Linked DNA regions of Homo sapiens: all the other regions are linked to region 3. Evidence: promoter capture Hi-C in 16 types of primary human blood cells and fetal thymus (Javierre and others, 2016). All regions are on one chromosome and are shown on one strand. The core of a region is centred on a gene start or on the middle of the fragment in contact, and the rest is flanking DNA. Distances in the headings are between cores, read along the strand shown.

Evidence for each region. Contacts are between HindIII fragments. The CHiCAGO score rates a contact against its expected background, and 5 or more counts as called.
Region 1: a fragment that was not itself captured here is called in contact with the fragment with the promoter of ACSM3 in region 3 in 1 of 17 cell types (total B cells); the score reaches 5.7 in total B cells.
Region 2: a contact is called between a fragment that was not itself captured here and the fragment with the promoter of ACSM3 in region 3, in 1 of 17 cell types (total B cells). The highest score is 6.1, in total B cells.

The regions. Positions count from the first base shown.
Region 1 is chr16:22,187,020-22,190,683 of GRCh38, reverse strand. It overlaps SDR42E2 (short chain dehydrogenase/reductase family 42E, member 2), which reads right to left. Exons shown (of 13, transcript NM_001394319.2): 13 at 1-545. The coding sequence ends at 291. LOC124903666 (a long non-coding RNA gene) reads left to right here and starts at 2,672. Exons shown (of 2, transcript XR_007065028.1): 1 at 2,672-2,713. RefSeq lists silencers at 78-177, 318-367, 458-547 and an enhancer at 1-372. The HindIII fragment of the contact is 605 bases long and covers 1,042-1,646 here.
Region 2 is chr16:22,351,970-22,355,710 of GRCh38, reverse strand. The region is part of intron 2 of CDR2 (cerebellar degeneration related protein 2); the gene reads left to right. Among named protein-coding and RNA genes, the nearest start is that of CDR2, 21 kb to the left of the region's middle. The HindIII fragment of the contact is 554 bases long and covers 2,083-2,636 here.
Region 3 is chr16:20,761,744-20,765,375 of GRCh38, reverse strand. It overlaps ACSM3 (acyl-CoA synthetase medium chain family member 3), which reads right to left and starts at 1,362. Exons shown (of 14, transcript NM_005622.4): 1 at 1,251-1,362. RefSeq lists an enhancer at 1,096-1,225. The HindIII fragment of the contact is 1,761 bases long and covers 1-1,521 here.

The sequences.
Region 1 (3,664 bases), core at 95-2,594, 1.4 Mb before region 3:
CGGAGCAGGAGCGTGCCCACTTCGGAGGGCGGGGCGGGACAGGACAGGGGCGGGGCCAAAACACAGGAAGGGCGCAAGGCAAGGTCTGGGAGTAGATAGGGGCGTGGCCAGAAGTCGGCGGTCCGGGCTAGGTCTGGAGAGCGGCTCGGGGGCGTGACCAGGATTCAAGGGGCGGAGCGGAGGCGCGCTCAAACCCAGAAGGCGGGGCAGGGGCTGGTACAAGCCCAGGGAGCCGGGCGTGGGCGAGGGTGCAGCGGGGCCGACCCTAGCGGGCGGCGGACGGCGGACGGTCACAGGCGCTCCACGGCGGCGTGCAGAGGCTGCAGGCCTAGGAAGTGCAGGGCCAGGGCGAGCAAGCCGAGGAACAGCAGCAGCCTGAGCAGCAGGCGCAGGAGGGTCCGCGCCGTGGAGCCGCGGGGCCGCCGGGTCGTGGACTGCACGTATAGCTCCACGGCGTCGGCGAACCTAAACTTATCCGGCGCGTAGCCGAGCTGGGCGCGGGCCTTGGCTATCTGGAAGGTGTGCGTCACGGCCACGCTGCGCACCTGCGGGGACAGGCGGGGCATCCGAGGGCGGGCCTCGTGGGAGGAGGACATCCTCTACTTCGTTGTTTACGGAAAGGGAAAAGAGAGGGCAGGGATTTCCCCTCCATTACATAGTGATTTAAAAGGACCCGAGTGCAGCGTCTTGCTCCTGCGATGCCCTCATTAGAGAGGTCTTCCTTTCTTCCTTACATGTTCATTTTTATTGGAGGGTGCCGCCTTTGCGTCGCCCCCTCCAGCCCCGCTGAATTCGCACCCTATTTAACTCCTTGGTCCCTAAGAAGCAAAGGTCTCACCCCTACACTCATCTTCCCGGCCTAGCACGGTGCTGGGACTCAGGAGGCCCTTGATACATTCTTAGGCATCCGCTAGGAGAAGGTGAACGCCTGCCAGAAACATCTGCAGGAAACGACCTTGGCTTCCTGCCCCCAACCCCAGACCAACTGTGACCAGGAGGGCCCCAGTCGCAGCCTTCATGCCCTCGCTTATTAACTAAGCTTCCCTAAGAGAGGAATTCGATTATGCAGAACTGATTGCTCTCCAGGGTCTAAGCTGTGTTTCCCCTGCTGCCAGATGGCTTGGGGCCCACTGGTTTGAAGGGTAGTAATGATAGCTATCAGCAGTTAAGGAACACACACCCTGCATTTGGCCTGGACTAAATCCTTTCTATGCCCTACCTCATTTAATCCTCTCAGGTGGTACTAGCACTATCTGTTCTGTGCATACTTGGAAAAAGGTCAGAGAGGTTGAGTGACTTGCCTGGGGTCGCACAGGGGAGCCAGGTTCTAGCCTAATTTCTTCTCTGCTGTGCTGGCACCTGGAGATGTTCTCCCACCTGACTCATTTCTTCCTCTCTTTTTCCTCAGCCGGACCCTGGGGAAGAATCCACCAGCTGCTGGATTCTCCCATGGCATTGAAACAGCCCCTGGGGTCAAACCTGTGGTCTTGGATGCTTAATGGGGGGTGAGGAGAGAGGCCAGTATTTGTCCCTTTTTTTCCTAGTCAGTAAGTGCAGGGCTTTGGGGAGCACAGGAGTTGAGTTACGCTAGATAAGCAGGGTCCCTAATACACCTAGATGTCTCTAGATGTCACCTCTGGGAAGCTTTCTCTGACTTCCTCAGAGTTGGCTGAGGCGCCCCTTCTGTGTGCACTGGAGTTTCTCGCGATTTTCCCAAGAATGGCTCTAATTACAGTGTTGAGTTGCCTGGTTAGTGGGCTGTCTTCCCCTTTGAACTAGGAGCTCCCTAAGGGCAAGGACTATGTCTTCTTGCCTCCGTTGCTCAGCACAGTGCCTGGTAACATTTATGTTAAATGCATAAAAGGCTATAAAGTCAAACTGGAGGGCTGGTTGATGTGTCACAGATTGACCAGCAGAGGGTACCCGAGCCACAGCCAAGGAACTTCCACAGTTAAGGACATTGCCCCTGAGCTGAACAAGGAAATCCCCAAGTTAAACAAGAGGGAGAGGAGCCAAGTCCCTGCCTGACCACAATTCAGCTGCACCCTGGCAGCTATTTTATGTGGATGTGATTCCTGATGCATTTTCACAAGCTAATGGTTAAGCTTGAAATCACTGAGGTCTGGGTTCAAATCCCAGCTCTACCATTTAAGTGAGTGATCACGGGCAGGTTATTTCACTGTGTGTCTCATTTCCTCCTCTCTAAATGGAGAGGACAATGTTGTCTACAACTCAGTTAAATGAGATAAAGCACAGTGCCTGGCATACTGTCACAACTCAAGAGATTGTCAGTATCATCTTATTCTCTCCTCCACTGATCCGGATGGCTCAAAGGAGAAGCCATAGGTGACTACTTCTTTCTGTGGCCCATTCTCCACTCTCCCCCTCTGACTCCCCTTGTTAAAGAGCACTGAACATGGAGTCTGAAGCCAATTCCAGTATGGTGTGGCCTTGGACAAATAATTTTCCTAGTGCTCAATTTTTCATCATAAAATGGAGATCACGATTTTTTTTTGACCTTTTTAACTTAGCAGGGCATCAGAGACAATAAAACGAGAGTGGACTGGAAGTAATTTTTTTTTTTTTTTTAGATGGAGTCTTGTGCTGTCACCCAGGCTGGAGTACAATGGTGTGGTCTCAGCACACTGCAACCTCCACCTTCCAGGTTCAAGCGACTCTTCTGCCTCAGCATCCCGAGTAGCTGGGACTACAGGTATGTGCCACCACACCCAGCTAATTTTTGTATTTTTAGTAGAGACAGGATTTCACTGCGTTGGCCAGGCTGGTCTCAAACTCCTGACCTCAGGTTATCCACCCGCCTCAGCCTCCCAAAGTGCTGGGAACAAGTGTGAGCCACCGTGCCCGACTGGACTGGAAGGATTTTTGCAAATAACCTCAAATACCACCGATTACTTTGCTATTTACAATCTGTGATGAAAACATCCTCTCTTTTAACTAAGCAAATATAAACCTGCATCATCATTATTATGAGAATAGTATTCTGAGCCAGGCATGGTGGTGCATGCCTGTAATCTCAGCTATTTAGAAGGCTGAGGGGGGAGAATCTTTTTTTTTTTTTTTGGTTTTTAGGGGCAGGATCTCCATCTGTTGCCTAGGCTGGAGTACAGTGGTGCAATCTGCAGCCTTGAACTCCTGGGCTCAAGTAATCCCCCACCTGAGCTGGGACTAAAGGCATGCACCACCTTGCCTGGCTAATTTTAAAATTTTTTGTAGAGATGAGGTCTTGCTATGTTGCCCAGGCTGGTCTCAAACTCCTGGCCTCAAGTGATCCTCCTGTCTCAGCCTCCCAAAGCACTGGGATTATAGGTGCGAGCCACCACACCTGGCCAAGAGGATCTCTTGAGCTCAGGAGTTTGAAACCAGCCTGGACAATATAGTGAGACCCTGTCTCATAAAAATAATTATATTCTGTATGTAGTAGGTACTTAATATATACTCATTATTCAGTAAGCATGAACTATGAGCCTAGGACCACCAGGCTGTTGTGTGTGTGTATGTATGTGTTGAGAGTTGGTGGGATTGGTAGCATTCAAAGAAGTGAATGGCCTGAAACTTGCCTTTGGGAACCTCCAGTCTGGCTGGAAAGACAAGATGCTTATGAATGAAGAAACAGTGATGATGGATAGGCTTGGAGCTGTCACAT
Region 2 (3,741 bases), core at 1,110-3,609, 1.6 Mb before region 3:
CTAAAACTGGCATGTTTGGGGGCTTGGCTATTATCTCTTCTAATTTCTCAGAAGTCAGATGAACAACTTTGCTTTGGCTTGCTGACATGGAACTTTAGCACAAGTGACTCCATTTTGGTTTGGTTTGTTGGGCCTAGGGCAGGGACTCAGTCCAAACCAGTGGTCTCCTATAAATTTTAACAGATCTATTAGTACTTGAAAGAAATGTCAAATTTCATTTAGAAGTTAACAAAAATGAAGATGTAGCTGTTCAGACCCTTTAAATTCATCCATGTTCACAGACCCTCTAAAGTCTATCCATGGACCCCAGGCTAAGAACTGCTGGCTTAGGTGGAGCAGCCAGGAGAACTGCATCCCCCCGGATAGGGGATCGTAAAGGCATTAGAGGAGGGAGGCACTTGCCTTGCAGTGGGGCAACTCCAAAAAAGGCAAAGATATCTCCCCTAAGTGTGAAATTTTAAAAAAATCAATAGCTAACAAATGAAGCTGGAAAAACCACTTGAGACAATTGGGAAAATATTAATGCTGAAACGTAATAGATGTTAAGGAATTATTGAGTTTTTTTCCCTTAGGAATTGTGGTTAAAATAAAACGTCCTAGAAATGTATGAAGATGTATACTTGAGATGCCTTGGATTAGCTTTAAAATGATTGGAGGACGAGGAAAGTAGGAGAGTAGAGATGAAATAAGATTGGCTGTATGTTGATAATTGTTGAAACTGGTTGATGGGTACGTGGGAGTTCATTAAACCATTTCTCTGCATGTATATATGTTTGAGATTATCCACAATAGAAAGTTTTATTTATTTATTTATTTTTAGACATAGTCTCACTCTGTCGCCCAGGCTGGAGTGCAATGGTGTGATCTTATCTCACTGCAACCTTTGCCTCCTGGGTTCAAGTGATTCTCATGCCTCAGCCTCCCAAGTAGCTGGGACTACAGGCGTGTGCCACCATGCCTAACTAATTTTTTTTTTTTTTTTTTAAGTAGAGATGGAGTTTCACCATGTTGGCCAGGCTGGTCTCGAACTCCTGTCCTCAAGTGATCCACCCGCCTTGGCCTCCCAAAGTGCTGGGATTACAGGCATGAGCCACCACACCTGGTCCACAATAGAAAGTTTTAAAATGCAGTGGATAAGATTAGCCATCTGTAGAAATTCAGTATTTGTTTGGACTGAGAAGTTAGGAAGGATCACTCAAGCAAGGTTAAGGTAACTAGTTTGTAATTTCAGGGAATTAATGATTGTTAAGAACATACCAAAGTGAAGCGTTATGATGATGAATGCTGCTGTGGTACAGTTAAAATATAACCTAATCTTAGTGGATAACTGCATCTAAGCTGAGCCCTATGCAGGGAGACGGTGAGCATTAAGCTGAAGAGTCATCATTGATCCAGTGAATGCCTGTGTCTCCTAGACCCAAGAGAAAAGGACATTGGTCAGGGCAGGGGACGTCCAGGATTTTCCATGTCCAAGATCAACATTTCTCTAAGTGTGATCTCTGGACTGCCTGTACTAATATCACCTGGGTTTGTTGCTAAAAATGCAGAATCCTGGCTCTACTCCAGTCTCAGCCGTTTGAGGGGAAGGGACCCAGGTTCTTACACTTTAATAAATCTTCTTCCAGGTGAATCTTAGCACATGTAAAGTTTGAAAACTGTAGCTTTAAATAAAGATGACAGTAGCTTCTCCTTATTGAGCAATTTACCATCTGCCAGATCTCATGCTGAGCTCTCTACATATATTAACGTTTTTGTAAATTATATATTTGTATATGTCAGGGAGGAAAAATATTTTTTTCCTCAACCTTCATGAGTGCTTAGTTGGAAAGGACCCCTGCAACAAAAGACAGATTAACAAGAGAAAAACAAGCTTACTAACATATCTATTTCATTTATATGTGTGGGAGATACCCAGGGGATGAGTCATTCTCAGAGGTGGCTTTGAATTCCAGCTTATGTAGTATCTTCAACAAAGAATGGTAATTTTTTAGAGAAGTGACAAGACAAAGGGGAAGAACTTTGTCTAGGGGCAGAACTTGTGGGAAGGCAAGTAAGTGGTGATAAAGGCCCGTTAGCAAAGCTTGTTAGTGTGGATTCCTCTGGTGCTGTCTTCTGGCCCATAAAGGTCTAAAGTTGTTAGTGGTTAACCTTTGTTCTCCCTGGTAGAGAGGGAGGAGGCAGGAACCTTTTTATGCCAAAGACGCATGCTTTGGGGTGACATAGTCCAGTCTCTCCCACACACATATTTATCTTTACAGCCTTATGAAGTAGTTGATGAGGAGAACTCACATTAGAAAAATGTGCTTGCTGTAGGTTACCCAGTTCTAAACAGCAAAGCAAGACCTCAAACCAGGTTCTGACTCCAAAGCCTGTGCTCTTAGCTACTATACCACTGCCTCCCATCAGACTCCTCTGATCCCATGTCTACCAGAGACTCTCATTCATGAATCGGCCTTTCACATGCCCTTTGTGGGGCAGCTGTGTCCTAATAGAGGATGTGAATATTCTTGTCACTGGGCAGGAACAGTTCCTGTTGTATATTAATAAATTAATGTCTGGCTTATGCATTAGCCTTTTTAAAGGTAGTTCTGAGTCCTAAAGAATACTTGATAATTTATACTTGATATAAAGAAGCTTGAAACATTTCTGCAGCTATTATATATATATTCTTGTGATTCTAAGCCTTTTTTCCGCTCCTGTGGAATCTCATCAATTCCTAAGAGATTGAACATGTTCCCATCAATGACAAGAACCTACTATGGAATTACTAGCCCGAGGGCAGGATTAAGGGCCTACTCCTTTAGTTCTGAGAAAGCTTCACGCATGAGAATTAGTGGTTGATTTCCAAAGGACCAGAAGAAGCTGGTGGGAGTTGAGGCAGTGAAGACTACACACAGGCTTTTATAGACCGTGCCATGTGCTCACCTTTCTCATTTAATTCTGCCAGTTCTACATGGTAGGTACTAACAGATCCACTTACTAATTCCGAACTCAAAAAGCTCTATAAAGCAAGATTTTTTTTTTCCCCTTAAATTTGCAACAGATTCATTTGGTAGTAGATCTTTACCTGAACTGATGTGAGGCTGTTTATAGTCTTAGTTCATACTTTTTGATGCAGAAATATTAATGCTTGATTACAGGGTGCTGCCCAGACCTCACAGGTATTATAAGGTGTCAGCTGTGTGTCAGGTATGAGCGCCATGTTGTCTTTCTAAAATTTAAAGAATTTTCCAAAACACTTTTGACTTCAAGAGTTTCAGATGAGAAAGTTGAAGTTAGGTTAAGTGTTTGTTCAACTCTTTGCTGCTGAGTTATGTAAATGGATTTGAAAAAAAAAAAGCCATATATGCTTTTTTCAACACTTTAAGGGCCCGTTGAGTGTCATTTAGCCCATTGTTTGTTAGCCTTGCAAATCCTTCTAGAGTTGTAGAAAAAGCCTCAAGAAGAGTGTGTTGTGTTGTGTTTGAGACAGTCTCTGTCACCCAGGCTGTAGTGCAGTGGCACGATCTCGGTTCACTGCAACGTTCACCTCCCACGTTCAAAAGATTCTCATGCCTCAGCCTCCTGAGTACGTGGGATTACAGGCGCGTGCCACCACGCCGGACTAATTTTTGTATTTTTATTAGAGGTGGGTTTTTGTCATGTTGGCCAGGCTGGTCTTGAACTCCTGGCCTGCCTTAAGCAATCTGCCTGTTTTGGCCTCCCAAAGTGTTGGGATTACAGGTGTGAGCCACCATGCCT
Region 3 (3,632 bases), core at 113-2,612:
TATCGACATCCTCTTCATCAAAACCATAAGATTACCTTCTCCTCAACAAAGTTCTTTTCCTCCCTTTTCATCGATCTTAGCATTTTACAACTTCTATTTCCCAGGTTTATAAAATTATTTGTAGGTAAAATTGCTGAGATAACTTTCCCAGGGTGACTCCAGATTTTTATACTGAGCCACAGAAACATTGGTAAGGAAAACTCTTCTAAGAAAGACAGTACCACCCCTGGTCAGATAGGCTTCTGAAAGTATTTAAGGTCTCATCTGAAATGCAAGCTCTTTGTCCCTACAGCCAAGGGGGCTTTAGCCTCCCCACAGCTCCCTAAACATCCCTCCCTCTAAGTATCCAAGTAATAACAGTAGTTTAACATATACAGCCTCAACGCAAGGTAAATTCACTGCTGTTGTCTCCAAACCCAACCAGACCCTGCCTGAAGCCCCTCCTATACAGAACTTTTGCAGCTGCCCTTGACCACCTAAAGGAGAAAACTGGCTGCTCTTAGGTTTGCATCTGTGTTTCCCAAAGTTTCCTGGAAGTAATTTACATACTTTCTGGATGATGCAGAAGATGGATTCCCATCTGTCACTGAGCAAGGTGGGGAGCTAAGCAGACAGTACAATGAAAATCTCAGCCACTACCTGGTCTTTTTTTTGAGATGGAGTCTTGTTCTGTCACCCAGGCTGGAGTGCAGTGATGCAATCTCAGCTTACTGCAAACTCCACCTCCCAGGTTCAAGTGACTCTACTGCCTCAGGCTCCCAAGTAGCTGGGGTTACAGGCACCTGCCACCACACCTGGCTAATTTTTTATTTTCAGTAGAGATAGGGTTTCACCATGTTGGCCAAGCTGGTCTCGAACTCCTGGCCTCAAGTGATCTGCATCTGCCCACCATAGCCTCCTAAAGTGGTGGGATTACAGGCTTGAGCCACCGCATCTGGTTCAATTAAAATTAAAAAAAAAATTTATCAACTTAATACATGTACATAGTTTTTCAAAAAATCAAATAGCACCAAAAGGCTCAACATGAAAACTCAGCTGCTACATTTATAGCCTTTTGTGTGTGCATACTCCTCATCACTTAATAGATAGTATCACACAACTGAGAAATTCTGAGAGAAACTTTGGCTGCCCAAGACTTTAATGACAGCATTTTTGATTGTTGGTTTTGTTCATCTGTTTGTTATCTTTGCTCAAAAAACAGATGTGCCAGTTCAGGAAATCTTACACAGGAGGGGAGATGAGGTACTCACTAGTTAACAGATTCCAACACAGATGGAGATTATGGCAGACTTGTTTCTTAGAAGAGCAGCCCTGAACCTTGAGTTCTCACATCTGCTTTTTCCTCGTGGCAGTCTAAAGAAGAGGGAGGAGCAGTCTGACAATCCGGAGGAGCAAGACTGGCCCAAAACACTTTCCTTGATTGGTGGAGACATTCTGGAGGAGGAGCCAAGCTCTGGGCTAAAGTTTACAGGACTCCCAGCGGTTCCTCTTACAGGTAATGATTTACAGAAACAGCAAGCTTTTGAGGGGCGGAGAAAGCAAATTATTAACAAGAAGGAAAGTGTCCAAGGAGTTGCCGAAGTGGTTAGTTCTGTAAAGGGGCAGAGAGAGCACTTCTCAGAAGGAAGAACAGATGGAGGAAGCCATAGAGGAGTTTTGAAATTGAAAGGAAAGAAGTTGAGGGGCGGTTATGGGTTGGCCTAAATCTCATCAAGCCCATTGGTGCGTTTATCTGTCGAAGTGGCAGGACTAAACATAAACGCTATCAGGTTACTCCCCTGCTCAAATCTTTCAGTGCTTCTTTTTCCACTCCAGGTAAAATCCGAGTCCTTACATGAACTGCAAGGAGTTGTATGATCTGGCACAGGGTCCTCTGATCCACAGCCCATTCTCCTTCCTCTGCCTCACTCTGCACAGCCACCGGCCTCCTTGCTTTTTCTCAAACACACTTGCCTGTTTCAGCCTCAGGCTTTCTGAATTCACAGTTTCCACTGACTGGAACTCTTTCCTCAGATATCCCCCTGGCCAAATTCCTCATTTTCTGAGGTGTCTTATTAAATAACTCTTCCCTTACCTCATTTTCTAAAGTAGCACTCTTCATTTTTTCTCTTTTACCATTTTTTAACTTTTTACATCTCTTACTATCACCCTTGAGGGTAAGAACTCTTTTTGTTTGATGGTGTATCTATTGCCTGGAATAGCTACTGGCAAATTTTAGGCATTCAATAAATAGTTGATGGATATGTGAATAAATAAAGGACTCTTTCAATTACATGTGAGAGACCCAACTTTACTTAAAGAGGAATTTGTTGGTCACTTTTGAGTTCTAGGAGTCTTTTGTTGTTGATTCCTTGGGATTTTCTGTGTAATCACATTACCTGTAAATAAGTAAACAGATCTTACTTCTTTCTTTCAGATCTATATGCGTTTTATTTCCTTTTCTTGCCTTATTGCGCAGGCTAGAGTGTCTAGCTCTACGTTGAATAAGAGTGATGAGAGCAGACATCCTTGCCTTGCTTTTGATCTTAGAGGGAAAACATTCAGTCTTTCATGGTTAGGTACAATATTAGTAGTAGGTTTTGTGTAGATGCCCTTTATCAAGTTGAGGAAATTCTCCTCTATTTCTATTTTTTTCTGAGTGTTTTTATCATGAATAGGTGTTGAATTTTGGCAAGTGTTTTTTCTGCATCAGTTACTATAAGCATGTGGTGTTTTTCTTCTTTAGCCTGTTAATAAGATAGATTACACTGATCTTCTAATATTGAACCAGCCTTGCCTCCCTGGAATAAACCTTGCTTGGTCCTGTTGTATATTTCTTTTTCTGTATTGCTGAATTCTATAGTTATGTCTCTTGACAAATTTGAGAACTTTTCAGCTATTATTTCTTGGAGTAAATTTTTAGCCCCCATGTTAGATCTTTTATGATAGTTTCACAGGTCCCTGAGGCTCTGTTCTTTTTTTTCTTTTTTTTCCCATTCTAGTTTCTTTCTTTTGTTCAGGTTGAGTAAATTCTGGCTTCCAGTTCTTTGATTTTTTTCTTCTATTATTTCTATTCTGATGTTAAGCTCATTATTAGAGACAGGGAAAAAACAGTGTTTTTTTTTCTACTCTCACATACCATTCAGCATAATGTTAGCAGTGGTGAATCCATACGGATCTACAATAACTTGATTCTTGCCTCTTCAAAGGAAAGAATTCATCCAAGAGGCATAAGGCAGAGTGAGAGACTGAGGCAAGTTTTTGAGCAGGAGTGAGAGTTTATTAGAAAGTTTTAGAGCAGGAACCAAAGGAAGAGGGGCAAGCAGGCAACTTGAGAGATCCAGGTGCCCTGTTTGACTTTTGACTTTGCGTTTTATACATTGGCATGCTTCCGAGGTTTTGTATCTCCTTTGATTTTTTCCTTGGCATGGGCTGTCTGCACGTGCAGTGGCCTGTCAGCACTTGGGAGGGGCCACATGTGCAATGTCTTTACTGAAGTTGTGCACATTCTCATTTGAGGCGTTTTTCCCTTACCAGTCAAGTGTTCCTAGAGGAAGGTTGTATACCAGTTAAAATCTGCCATTTTGCCTCTTAGTACGCATGCTTGAGCACACTTGCCCAGTTCCTGAGATCTTATTGGAAAGCTGCTGATC